2 separate regions of the Homo sapiens genome follow, and region 2 is linked to region 1. Evidence: promoter capture Hi-C in human tissues and cell types (Jung and others, 2019). All regions are on one chromosome and are shown on one strand. Each heading gives the region's core, a stretch centred on a gene start or on the middle of the fragment in contact. The rest is flanking DNA. Distances are from core to core; before and after follow the strand shown.

What was found. The method cuts DNA at HindIII sites, captures the fragments that hold promoters and counts their contacts. A contact is called where the count stands out against the background at its distance.
Region 2: a contact is called between a fragment that was not itself captured here and the fragment with the promoter of NPEPL1 in region 1, in 1 of the 25 tissues and cell types used here (dorsolateral prefrontal cortex).

Annotation. Positions count from the first base shown.
Region 1 is chr20:58,689,896-58,696,574 of GRCh38, forward strand. It overlaps NPEPL1 (aminopeptidase like 1), which reads left to right and starts at 2,905. Exons shown (of 12, transcript NM_024663.4): 1 at 2,905-3,155; 2 at 3,842-4,027; 3 at 4,527-4,697. The coding sequence starts at 3,006. STX16-NPEPL1 (STX16-NPEPL1 readthrough (NMD candidate)) reads left to right here. Exons shown (of 23, transcript NR_037945.1): 9 at 1,139-1,332; 10 at 1,510-1,667; 11 at 1,829-1,885; 12 at 3,842-4,027; 13 at 4,527-4,697. RefSeq lists enhancers at 2,338-3,043, 4,484-5,091 and silencers at 2,541-3,030, 3,041-3,200, 3,231-3,310, 3,331-3,420. The HindIII fragment of the contact is 15,721 bases long and covers 1-6,291 here.
Region 2 is chr20:58,318,338-58,325,565 of GRCh38, forward strand. The region is part of intron 2 of RAB22A (RAB22A, member RAS oncogene family); the gene reads left to right. Among named protein-coding and RNA genes, the nearest start is that of RAB22A, 12 kb to the left of the region's middle. The HindIII fragment of the contact is 9,624 bases long and covers 1-7,228 here.

The DNA of each region.
Region 1 (6,679 bases), core at 1,655-4,154:
CAACAAATGTATGTCAAATGAATGAATGAATGAAAATGCTAGAAAATACGAAGCAGATGCACCGAGGAAATGTTTCTTTGAAGTATCGGATATAATGGAATCTGAGAGCCTCGTGGCAATCAGCTGAGTCTAAGCAGGCATTAGGTTTTATAGGGGTGAAGTCTGACATGAAATTAACATATAAATGTAGATTTCAAACACCTAGAGCCATCTTACAAGATAGGATTTCAGAAATGTGTCCTAGAATGTGAACTGTACCAAAAAACATCCTAGTAAGTTCTAGGAGCTTTATTCTGATTTGTCCCAGAAGTTTTTAATCTTTTCTTCAACTTTGGAGCAAAGTCTGAACATCCAATTGAATGTGGAATAGGTTTCAAGCCATCAAAAACATAAGTTGATTTTTGGGTTGCATTAAAGATCTGGTAATTTGTTTTAAACTTTCATTTTTTAAGGAAAATTAAATAGAGTTGAATTTTTCATTGACAGTGAAATATATAGTAAGCCATGGATTAATACCTTCATAAAAATTTATCTAAACAAAGTGCTGCCTGTCTTATTTATGTTAAAGTCTGTAAAGTCAGCAGTGAAAAAGGGAAAGTACTTTCCTGGAATGTATTTGTATCTGTCACAAGCTGAATCTTGAGGAAATTGGCAGGCATTTGAAGTGGAATAATTCCTTAGCGTTCTGTTTAGTTTGGATTTCTTCAATTCGGGGGTGGCTTAAAACCAGAATCACCAATATTTGCTTTTAACAAGCATCTAACGTTTTCTCTTGCTTTGTGTACACTAAGTGCTCAACAAATGTTGGTTGAATTGAATCATTTTGTTCATCCTTTCTGGGGACTGTCAGGGTTATTCAGTCTATTCTTAAATATGAAAGAATTCTAAAAGAAAAACATCTCCAAAATGACCTCTCCACCAACAGTTTATCTCATTTCCAACTCCTTGTACACAAACCTGCTAGATCTGGCTTTCTGAAATGCTTCTTGGATCCCTCTTCAGTTTGCAAAATTCTATAGAGTGAGCCAGGCTCCCCAGTCGATCTCCTCACCCACTCCTATTTTCCAGGAACCTTCTGTTCTAACCACACAGGTTTCAGAGCCTGCTGGACATATTCTGCGTCTGTGTTTCCTCCCAGGACTTCTCCCACGTGGAAGGCCTTCTTTCTCAATCTCTTCGCCTGTGGAAGTCCTATTACATCTGTCAGGGCATGGCCTTAGTCTCTCACCCTCTAGGAAGATCCTCCAGCTGTCTCAGTCCTCTGGAGTGCCGTGTGCCTGTCTGCAACGTATTTGCAAACAGAAAAAAGAGTGAGAGATCTTCATACACACTGTTAGTACCCTTTACCAATGTGTGAAAACATTCAGCTGCTGTAAAATCTTTTGAAGAAAATAAGATCCAATTAGCGTTGACTTTTATGTCGGGAAAGCTGAGGGTTTCAAAGGAATGCCTTTCAGTCATTCAACAGCTTTTTTTTTTTTTTTTTTTTTTTTTTTTTTTTTTTTTGAGTGCCTGCTCTGTGCCAGGAACTGGAGGAAAAAAAAACAACAAAAAGTCAAAAAGACCTGCCTTCAGGATGCTGAAGCTCTAGTCTGTGGTGTTTCCAAGGGGCCAGGGACCATGGCTCAGAGCTGAGCAGACAGACCTGGAGCCTGTGGACAGGGAAGGTGAAAGCCTGGCTTGTGGCTCCCGGGGCTACAAGTTAGGGAGCTAGGGGGCCAGCTGGGAGGTCAGTGGTGGAAAACCTCTCACACCACGCCAGGGAGTTGACAGTGCTTTTTTTTCTTTTTTTCTTTTCTTTTTTTTTTTTTTTTTTTTTCATTTTTAGGCTGGTTATGAAGAAGAAACTCAAAATAACAGGAGTGGCTTATGGAACTACATGGAGGTAACAGAGGAGGGTACCAACCAAAGGCCCTTGAGCAATCAGGATGTTGGGTAACAGATTTTTGCTTTTAAATGACTCCTGGGTGGAGCTTCCCCAATGCATCGTCATTCCCTGACCCTTGCATCTGACCCTGTGGGTGGGACCCTCCGCCTCCACCATCCACTCAAGGCTCACCCCTGGCTCCTCCACCACCCGGCTCCTGCCCCACACCCCCGATGGCCTTTCCTCCCCTGTAAGGCGACTGAGGTGACTCAGGTCACCCTGCTCCTTCCTCGTCTCATCTCGTCCCTCCTTTCCTGCTTAGACTGTGCCAGATGACCCTTCTTGCAAAGGGGTGGGCGGGAAGGCCCCCCATGCAGCCAGGCAGTGCCTGGATTTGTAACTGGCCATCCCAGCAGCAGTGCCCTGGATGGAAAGCCACGTCCCTGTCACCCTCTCACATCCAGGGCAGTGCCTGGCAGAGCGGGGTCTGATAAACGCCAGGGAACCTCCGATTAAGTGAGGAGGAAGTGACCGTCCACGCTGTACCCACCATGCCAGGCAGTGGGACAAAAGGACCTGACTCAGGTCCAAGAGTCACTGGGCCCCTCCGGCCTAACTGATGGGTGGCCAGGGTGCGGGGTCCCTGGGGATCAAAAGCAGCTGCTAAGGGACCTCGGGGGACCTGCTTGGGGCCAGCCTGAGGCCTGACCGGGCGGAACTGCGTCGGGTGGGCTTGGGCCTACGTCGGCCCAGGCCCCACTGGAGGCCAGGCCCGTCCGGGAGGCGCTGCCTGGCGGGCCACGTCGCCCCGCGTGTTGGGCAGGGCCGCTAGGCCCAGGGGCGGCGCCGCTGGAGGCCGGGCGCGCGGGCCCTACTCGGCAGGGCCTGCTCGGGGCCGGCTTCGGGCCTGCCCGGCCGGGCCTGCCCGCACCCTTCCGCCCGGCCTGGCCGGCGCCCCCTCGCGCCCCGGGCGGGCCCTGCACGTCTCGCGAGCAGCCCGGAGCGGCGGGGGAGGCGGGGCCCGCGGGCTGCCGGGCAGGGCCGGGGCGGTGCCGAGGCCGGGCCGGAGCGGGGCGAAGGGGGCCGAGCGGCGGGCCGGGCCGGGCCGGGCAGGGCCGGGGCGTGGGCCGGCAGGAAGATGGCGAACGTGGGGCTGCAGTTCCAGGCGAGCGCGGGGGACTCGGACCCACAGAGCCGGCCCCTGCTGCTGCTCGGGCAGCTGCACCACCTGCACCGCGTGCCCTGGAGCCACGTCCGCGGGAAGCTGCAGCCCCGGGTCACCGAGGAGGTGAGCGGGCCGCCGGCCGCCATGCGACCCGCGCCGCGGAAGCCCAGGCCCGGGCGGCCCGCGGAGGCCCCGCCTCGCCCGCCGCACCCCCGCCGCCGCCGGGCCGGGCCCAACGAGGCCGGGCCGCCTCCCTGAAGGGCTCAGCCGCCAGGCCAGTCCTCGCCCGCGGAGGCCCAGCCCCAGGCCCCGTCGCCGGTGCGGCGCGGTGGTCCTCCTGTCAGCCCAGCCCTGCGCCCCGCGAGGCCGCGACACCTGCGGACGGCGGGGGGGGAGACGTGGCCGCTCCCAGGGCCGCGCGTCGGCCCCGCCTGGCGACAGGCCCTGGCTTCCAGAAGTTCCCATGGCAGTGTCCCCAGCTGCCTTTCCTTGGGGACACCTGGCCCCTGCCCCCTCTCTGGTGGAAGCCGCCTAAGCCCTATCCGAGTGTTGGAAGCAAAGCAGCCCCCAGCCTGGCCCTTCCAGGCTTGGTGGCTTCATCCCACCAGGGGGATGCGAGCCAGCCTAGAGACAGTTAGCTCTGCAGAGAGGCGACACATCTCCCTAAGGATGGGAAAACGGTGGCCGGGAGCTGCGCAGTGCCCTTCCAGGACTGCAGGAGTGGTTGTGGCCGTGGCTGCAGGGCAGGGCCTCCTGGCACGTGGCCGCTGTTTGAAGCCTCTGTGTCTTGTCTCTCCCTTCTGATCTAGCTCTGGCAGGCTGCCCTGAGCACGCTCAACCCCAACCCCACGGACAGCTGTCCCCTCTACCTGAACTACGCCACCGTGGCTGCCCTGCCCTGCAGGGTGAGCCGGCACAACAGCCCCTCGGCCGCCCACTTCATCACGCGGCTGGTGCGGACCTGCCTGCCGCCCGGAGCGCATCGCTGCATTGTGGTGAGTGCTTCGAGAGGAGGCAGCCACGGTGCTCCTAGTCGGGCAGCGGTGAGCTCGGGCCTGGGGAGCTCACAGCCCTGCTCAGACTGCAGCGCACGCCCAGAGGGCTGTGGACGTTATCATCCCTGCTCTGTAGACAGGGAAACAGGTCCAGAGAGACGCGGGGATTTGCCCCAGATCAGTTTTGGTGGCAAATCAGAGACTCAAACCTAGATTTCCTGAGGCCCACTTTGTGTCTGTCCCTCTGTCCCTCATTTTCATGGCTGGTCAGGCTGTTGACATCTGGTGGCCAATGTGTTATTTCTCTTGGAGCATGACCAATGGTGGTCCCATGGTTCCGGGGATGACCTGAGGGATGGGGTGGCGGCTGCTGTGGGACATCTCTGTCTAGATGTCACCTGCCAGGGAGCTGATGTTCCGGAGGCGTTCAAAGAGCAGCTCCCTGCACTCCCTGGTGGCGGCCCTTGCACCCCTCACGCCGTCTCCCTATGTGCCACAGATGGTCTGCGAGCAGCCGGAGGTCTTTGCTTCCGCCTGTGCCCTGGCCCGGGCCTTCCCGCTGTTCACCCACCGCTCAGGTGCCTCTCGGCGCTTGGAGAAGAAGACGGTCACCGTGGAGTTTTTCCTGGTGGGACAAGACAACGGGCCGGTGGAGGTGTCCACATTGCAGGTGGGTGTCTGGAAGGGCAGACACTGCCCCTGGGCCCGGGCAAGATCGGGCAGGTGGGAGGGAGGTCGGGAGAGGGAAAAGCTTGTTGCGGGGGCAGGAGGGGGTTCCTGCCCTTCCCAGGAGCTTTGGTTCCTGGGAAGCGGCAGAGGCTTTTCCAAACCCAGGCCCCCTGCCTCTGCCTCAGCGTGGTCTGTGACTTCAGGATTCTGTTGTATACAGGCAGTGTTTGTTGAGCACGTAATCAGTGCCAGGAACGTCCATGCTGTTTTCCAAATAACCCTGCCCGTTTATGTGAGCTCCGTGTGCACGTGTGTGATGTATGCACGTGTGTGTGTATGTGCGTGCACATGTGTGTTGCTGTGCGTGTATGAGTGTATGTGCATGTGTTGTATGTGTGGGGGGTGTGTGTGTGCATGTGTGATGTGTGTGTGTGTGTGGTATGTGTTGCTGTGTATGTTTGCTGGTGTGTGCATGAGTGGTGTGTGTGGTGTACGTGTGGTATGTGTTGCTGTGTGTGTGTGTTTGCTGGTGTGTGCATGAGTGGTGTGTGTGTGTGGTGTGCATGTGTGGTGTGTGCATGTGTGGTGTGTGTTGTTGTGTGTGAGTACTGGTGTGTGCATGAGCAGCATGTGTTGCTGTGTGTATGAGTGCTGGTGTGTGCATGAGTGGTGTGTGTGTGTGTTGTGTGTGTTGCTGTGTGTGTATGAGTGCTAGTGTGTGCATGAGTGGTGTGTGTGTGGTGTGTGTGCATGTGTGTTGCTGCACCCTTTACAGGGAGCACTTCTACATGTGTTATTTCACTCAATGCTGAGAATGATCCTTTTGAGGCTGCAAGGCCGGAAGTGATTTCCCAGCTCCAGATCCTTGGATGGGCCTGACATCAGGCTCCTGTCCCCACGGCAGCGGTCCCAGCCTCTGCGCCTGCCACCTCCAGTCCCCGAGCCCACAGCGCCACCCAGGTTGTCTTTTCTCATGTGTCAGCGCTCATTCTTCACTTCTGGCTCTGGAAGGCTGTCGCCTTCACCCAGGCAAGCTCTCCCACATCAGCACTTGGGCCACACCTCATTTCTTTCACTGTGTGCTCTCTGAGGCCTGTAACCACTGCCCCTCAACCCAAATTCTTCCATCTTCACCAGCATGAGATAGCTCCCCTTTTTTCCCTTCGTCTCTGAGCTTTTAAAAAAGTCTAACTGGTTTGCCTTGCTTAATCCTCTTTTCCCTCTTAACCCATGGAGACAGAGTTTTTGCCCCCATCCTGACATTGTTTTCTAAGGACTGCTGGATGGGGTGTTGCCGTCCCTCCTTGAAGTGCATCTGCCCCATCCAGAGGTCTCCCTCCCTCCCGCTGCTCCCCAGACTGCTGCCACCTCTCGGCATCCCCTTCATGGCCTCTCCAGCGTTCCGACCTGCTCAGCCCTCTCCGGGTCAGACACCAGCATCTGCCTCTTCTCTCTGTCTTTAGGGATTTTCTTCTGACTTCCAGGCCTGCCATCCAGGTGGGCACGGGTGCCCGCAGAGCCCACCGGGGGCTCAAGCATCACCCTTATTTCCGAGGACAGCAGGGCACCCTGACCTCTGCTGCCCTCAGTCCCTTCCCCTCCTGTGGACTTCCTGCTGTCCCTTAGACTGGCCACGCCCACTCCTGCTCTTGCTCCTCTGCAGGGGTCCTTCCCTCTCCAGCCCAGCATGGTCTCCATCCAGCCTCTGCCCACATTCCCTCCCCAGGGAGGCCTGGCCCTCTTGGCTAGCACCACCCTCCCATTTGTCAGCTAAACCATCACTACTAGACATGTCACATCTTTGTTGATCTCCTGTGCTCCTCACTGGGTTGGGAGTCCCCAGAGGGCAGGGACCTGGTCTTGTGCACAGTGATCCCAGCACCCGACCCCACACATGAAAAAGGCCCAGTAAACATCTGGTGATGGAACCAGTGGGGGCAGTCAGTCCCCATGGCCCCCGACCCCATTGGTCCCAACTAGCTA
Region 2 (7,228 bases), core at 1,758-4,257, 370 kb before region 1:
TCTTTCTAATTTTTTCTCCAAATTTTTTCGTAACATGCATGCACAGGTTGAGTATCCCAAATACAAAATGCTCCAAAATCTAAAACTTTTTGAGCAACAGTATGACACTCACAGGAAATGCCCATTGGAGTATTTTGGATTTTTGGATTTGAAATGCTGAACTGATATAATGCAAATATTCCAAATTCTGAAAAATTCCTAAATCAGAAACCCTTCTTTTTTTTTTTCCAAAATCGGAAACACTTCTGGTCAGCATTTCAGATAAGGGGTACTCAGCATGTACTGGTAGTTGTTGATCCCTCTCTCCTCCCCGCCTCCTGTTTAAGGCAGTATCTACTGATTCTTTTTCTTTGGAAGATGGGAATTTTGCCATCCTCCTCCTCCCACCTCCTTGTGCACATTTGCCCTCCCTCCATCTTTCCATTAAAGTTCTCTCATTGGGAGTCAATGTGCCATAGTGTTCAGAGCCAGGCTGTCTGCCTTCACCTCCCAGCTCTAGCACTTAGTTGCTCTGTGGCATTGGACAAGTTATTTAACTTTTTTGTGCCTACATTTGCACATTTGGGAATCCTCCTTGGCATCTAATCTGTAGGGTTGTTGTGAAATTGAATTCAAACACATAAAAATTGCTTAGAATGGTGTATGTCGTATGGAAAGCATTTGTTATTTCTTAGCAAATGACAAAATTAAATTTTAAAAGGTTATTTTTTAATCTCCCACTATGGTTTTGAACTTTATATAAATGGAATTAGTATACACACACACATACATGTCATTTGTTTCTAGGATGATTAGACTGACATATGGAAAAAAAAAAGATTCTTGACCCTTACCTCACAAAGTAAACGAGTAGAAACAGATCACAGACCAAAATTTAATAAGGCTATAAAAGTTCTAGAACAACATTGGACATATAGGACACACCAAAAAACAAAGCATAAAAAGAAGCTGGAGTTGATCAAAATTAAACATTTTTGTTGAATTCAGCATTTGTTGAATTAAATCACCTTGGCACCTATGAGTTTATATATGTGTATGGGTGTATTTCTGGATTTCCTTTTCTGTCCCATTGGTCTATTCATCTGTCCTCAAGCCAGTACAATATTGTGTTCATTGCTGTAGATGTATAGAAAGTCTTGGAATCAGATAGTGTATGTCATCTAATTCTATTCTTGTTTTTCATGTCTGGCTCCTCTGGGTCTTTTGCATTTCTATATAAATTTTAGAATCACAGTGCCCAGTTCCTCAAAAGAGCCAGGTGAGATCTTGATTGGGAACACATTGAATCTCTTGACCAATTTGGGAAGAATTGTCATCTTAACACTATTCCATTTTTGATCCAGGAACATGATATATTCACCGTTAATGTAGGTCTTTTACCATTCATTCAGTCTTTTACCATTCAATTTGATGGCTGTCTCTAGGTCTTTTATAAATGCCATTATCAGGTTGAAGATGTTCCCTTCTATTCCTGAATTAATGAGATTTTTTGTCATGAATTGTGTTGAATTTTATTAGATGGTATTTTACATATTTTGAGCTGTTCATATTCTTTTTCTTTCTGTTAAAATGGTGCATTACAACCATTGAGAGTTTAATACTGAAATATTAAACCAATCTGGCACTCCTAAGATAAATTTCTCTTGGTCATTATGCATTATTATTTTTTATATATTGCTGGATTTGATTTACTAAAATTTTTTCAAGGATTTTTCTCTCCATGTAGTTTTCTGTAATAGTCTTTCTCTAGTTCTGGTGTCAGGACCTCATCAAATGAGTTGAGGAATGTCTTCTCTTCTACTTTTTTGGAAGAGTTTGTGTAGAATTGGTATTACGTCTTCCTTAAAGTTTTGGTAGAATTCACAGATGAAACCATCTGAGCAGGGAGTTTTCTTTGTCTGAAAATATGTAACTGCAGATTCAATTCCTTTAGTAAATACTGTAAAGGCTTATTCAGGCAACTATTTCTTCTTGAGTAAGTTGGTAGTTGTGTCCTTCAAGGAATTTGTTCATCGTATCTCTGTTTTTTTTAATTTATTGGCATAAAGTTGTTTATAATATCCACTTCTTATCCTTTTAATGTTTTGGGATCTGTAGCAATACCCCCCTTCCATTTTTGATAGTGCTGATTTGAGCCTTCTCACTTCTTTTTCTGAACTGTCCAGCTATAAGTTTATCAATTTTATTCGTCTTCTCAAAGAACCAGTTTTTGTTATCTGAGCATTTAGAACTGTAAATTTCCCTTTAAGTGATGGTTTAGGTGAATTTCATGGATTTTGATATGTTGTGTTTTCATTTTCATTTAGTTGCCCCTGTCATTTCTCTTGTGACTTCTTTGAGCATTGGTGTCTTAGAAATATATTTTCTAATTCCCAATTCTTTGGGTATTTTCCAGAAATTTTTCAAGTATCGATTTCTAGCTTAAATCTATTGCGGGTACAGGTGCGGTGGTTCGCACCTATAATCCTAGCACTTTGGGAGGCCAAAGCGGGTGGATCACTTGAAGTCAGGAGTTCAAGACCAGCCTGGCCAACATGGTGAAACCCTGTCTCTGCTAAAAAATACAAAAATTGGCTGGGCTCAGTGGCTCACGCCTGTAATCCCAGCACTTTGGGAGGCCGAGGCGGGTAGATCATGGGGTCAACAGATCGAGACCATCCTGGCCAACATGGTAAAACCCCGTGTCTACTAAAAATACAAAAATTAGCTGGGCGTGGTGGCACACGCCTGTAATCCCAGCTATTCAGGAGGCCGAGGCAAGAGAATCGCTTGAACCCTGGAGGCGGAGGTTGCAGTGAGCCCGAGACTGCGCCACTGCCCTCCAGCCTGGTGACAGAGCAAGACTCCATCTCAAAAAAAAAAAAAAAAATACAAAAATTAGCTGGGCATGGTGGTAGGCACCTGTAATCTCAGCTACTGGGGAGGCTGAGGCAGGAGAATTGCTTGAACCCAGGAGGTAGAGGTTGTAGTGAGCCGAGATGGCACCACTGCACTCCTGCCTGAATGACAGAGTGAGAACTCCGTGTCAAAAAAAAAAAGTCTATTGTGGTCAGAGAACATACTCAGTATTATTTCAAACCTTTTATATCTGACATTTGTTTCCTAGCCTAAGATGTGGTCTGTCTTTGTGAATGTTCCATGTGCACTAGTAAAGAATGTGCATTCCGCTACTGATGTGTGGAGTATTCTGTAAACGTTAATTAGCTCATTTAATAGCACTGCTCCTATCTCCAGTGTTTTTACTAACTTTTTTCTCTTATTTTGCAGTAAAAGAGTATTTGAAGCAGCTCTAATTAAAGATTTGTCTATTTCTGTTTTTAATCAGGTTTTGCTTCATGTTTCGAAGCTTTCGTTATTGAGTGTATATGCATGTAGCATTGTTTTTATATATTTTTATATAACATACATGTCATGTATTATATATATTATATGTATGAATTATATATCTCTTAAATGTATCTGTGTTATATATACATAAACAGAAACAAGGTCTTGCTCCATCTGTCAGGCTAGAGTGCAGTGGTGCAGTCACAGCTCACTGCAGCCTCAACTTCCCAGACTCAAGTGATCCTCCTACCTCAGCCTCCTGAATAATAGGACCACAGGTGTACTCACCACATCTGGCTAATTTTTTTCATTTTTTGTAGAGCTGGGGTCACTTTGCTGCCCAGGCTGGTCTCAAACCCCTGGGCTCAAGCCATCCTCCTGCTGTGGCTTCACAAAGGGCTGGGATGACAGGCATGAGCCACCTCACCGGGCGTCATTGTTAGATTTTCTTGATGACCCTTTTACAAACGTCATGAAATGTCTCTCTTTTGTCCCTGGTAAGAGTGCCGTTCTGAATTCTACTTGGTCTGATATTAATTTAAGCTCTTTGGCATTCTATTTGATTATCTCTTCCCATGCATTTACATTTAACCTATTTATAGCTGTATTTTTCAAGTGCCTTTCTTGTAGATAGAATTATAGGCTCTGCTTTTATATCTAATCTGACAGTCTCTGCCTTTTAATTATTTAGACCTCCACGGTCTAGTACAGTTGCTACTAGCCACATGTTAAAATTAAAAATTCAAATCTTCAGTCATATTAGCTACATTTCAATCCTCATAACAAATTTCTGTTGTATAGCACTGATTTACATCATTTTTATTTATTATGACTGTCAATATTATTTGGTTTAAAACTACCATCTTGCTTTATTTTTCTCTTGGCCCCATGTTAATGATTCCATTGTATTTCCACTATTATCTTGTTTACCTCTTTGTTTTTATTATTTTAATGATTTGCTAGAATTTATAATATCCTTCTTTGATATATCAGTCTGTGTTCAAATAATAACAGTTTCACATATAAGAACCTCGCAAGAGCGTCCTTCTGTTTCCCTTCTCCCAGGCTTTGTGCTGCTGTGGTCATATTTTACTTCTACATGTTATGAAATCACAACACACTTATTTTTTTTGCATTAAATGACCTTTCAAAGAGACCATTAGTCTTTTTTTCTATCCTTGTGCCATTGTCACGATTTCTAATTTTTTTTCATACTAAGTCTTACTGTCCAGTGGTGTGAATTTTCTGTGTTGTTCTTCAGCAATGTCTTGGCTGTTCTTGACCTGTTTCAATATAAACATTAAAATCATCTTGTCCTTTTTCACTCACACCAACACGCTAATCCCTACTGTGTTTTTGATTGGCCTTGTGTTGAATATATAAATTGATCTGGAGAGAAATGGTATCTTTATAATACTGAATCTTCTAATATATGAACATAGATTACTCTTTCATATATATTAGGATTCTTGAGTTTCTCTCAGTGTTTTTTTTCTACTTCTCTGTGTTATGGACTTGGACATCTTTCCAAGGGGTTTGATATGTTTAGTGCAGTTTTATGCTGTTAATATGGTAAATGGCATTGTTTTGAAATTTTCATTTTCTTTTTATTTGTTGATTATATACAGAAATACGACTTTTAAAAATTGAAGTTATATCCAGTAACCTTGCTGAATTTATTCACTAATTTATAGAGCTTATCTCTATACATTATTTTTTTGTGTTCTCTGTATACTTTTATATCACCTGGGAATTAGTTTTTTTAATCTTTATTCTAATTCTTAAACATTTTACTTATTCTATGAGATCAGGTAGGATCTCTAGTTCAATGTTCAATAGAAATGGTAATACTAGGTATTATCCTAATCTTAGGGGGTAGCTTCTACCATCATACCATTATGTTTGCTATAGGTTTTTTGTACATATTCCTATCACATTACAAACGTGCCCTTTTTTTTTTCTTTTTTTTTCTTTTTTTTTTTCTTTTAAGAGACATGGTGTCACTATGTTGTTCGGGATAGATTTGAACACCTGGGCTCAAGTGATCCTCCTGCCTCAACCTCCAGAGTAGCTGGGAGTACTGTAGATTGACACCACCATGCCCAGCAGAAGCACCTTTATTTTGTTTGCTGGGATCTTTGATTTTTTTTTTAACATAATGTTGACTTTATCAAAATATTTTTCTACATGTATTTGGCTAATCACATAATTATACTCTTTTATGTTAATGTGGTAAATTATATCATTAAATTTTCATGGAATAAATACACTTAGGTCAGGACATGTTATTTTTATTAAATACATATCACTGGCTTTAATTAGTTATTATTTTTTAGAATTTTTATGTATGTTTATAAATGGAGACTATCATATAAATACTTTTTTATAATGTGCATGTCAGATTTGGCATCAGTGCTGTGCTTGCCTGATAAAACTGGTTGAGAAACTTCTGTGGAAGAGACTGTATAAAATTGCTCTTATTCCTTCCTTAAGTGATGAGTAAAATTCATCAGTGTTGCCATCTGGGCTTCAAGTTCTTCTTGTATGATAGTCTGATTAGAGAGTCAGTTTCTTTCACAGTTGTAAGGTTGTTGATACTCAGATTTTCTATTTCTCTTGTATTGGTTTTAATACATTGGGGTTTTTTTTTTTAAGGATTTTGACTCTTTCATATACGTTTTCCAATTTATTGACATAAAGATGTTAAGATTCTATACGGAGACCCCGTTTTCATTTCTGATATTAGTTTTGCCTTTGATCAACTCTATGATATGTCTCTTCCCTGTTTCACTAATTTCTACTCCCATCTTTATTATTTTTGTCCTTATTCAATATGCTGTTCCTTTTCTAACTTCTTGAGATAGACAGTTGTCACTGATTTTCAGTCCTCCTCGGTTGTATTCCTTGTATCTTAAAACTTTAGGCCAGGCACAGTGGCTCACGCCTGTAATCCCAGCACTTTGGGAGGCCGAGGCGGGCAGATCATGAGGTCAAGAGATCAAGACCATCCTGGCCAACATTGTGAAACCCCGTGTCTACTAAAAATACAAAAATTAGCTGGGCATGGGGGCACATGCCTGTAGTCCCAGCTACTCAGGAGGCTGAGGCAGGAGAATCGCTTGAACCGGGGAGTCGGAGGTTGCAGTGAGCCGAGATCGCACCACTGCTCTCCAGCCTGGTGACAGAGCGAGACTCCGTCTCAAAAAAAAAAAAAAAAAAAAAAACTGTACGCCAGGCCCGGTGGCTCACACCTGTAATCCCAGCACTTTGGGAGGCCAAGGCGGGCAGATCACGAGGGTCAGGAGATCAAGACCATCCTGGCCAACATGGTGAAACCCCGTCTCTACTAAAAATACAAAAATTAGCTGGGTGTGGTGGTGCGTGCGCCTGTAGTCCCAGCTACTCAGGAGGCTGAGGCAGGAGAATCGCTTAAACCTGGGAGTCGGAGGTTGCAGTGAGCCGAGATTACACCACTGCACTCCAGCCTGGTGACAGAGCGAGACTCCATCTCAAAAAAAAAAAAAAAACTTTAGGCTAGGCGCAGTGGCTCACACCTGTAATCCCAGCACTTTGGAAGGCCCAGGTGGGCGGATCACAAGGTCAGGAGATCAAGGCCATCCTGGCCAACATGGTGAAACCCCGTCTCTACCAAAAATACAAAAATTAGCTGGGTGTGGTGGTACATGCCTGTAATCCCAGCTACTGGGGAGGCTGAGGCAGGAGAATCACTTGAATCTGGGAGGCGGAGGTTGCAGTGAGCCAAGATGGCGCCACTGCACTGCAGCCTGGGTGAGAGAGTGAGACTCCGTCTCAAAAAAAAAACAAAAAACTTGACTGTGGCTTTTGCTGGATCCAACAAGTTTTTTTTATAGATCATTTCATCATCATTCAGTTCAGAATA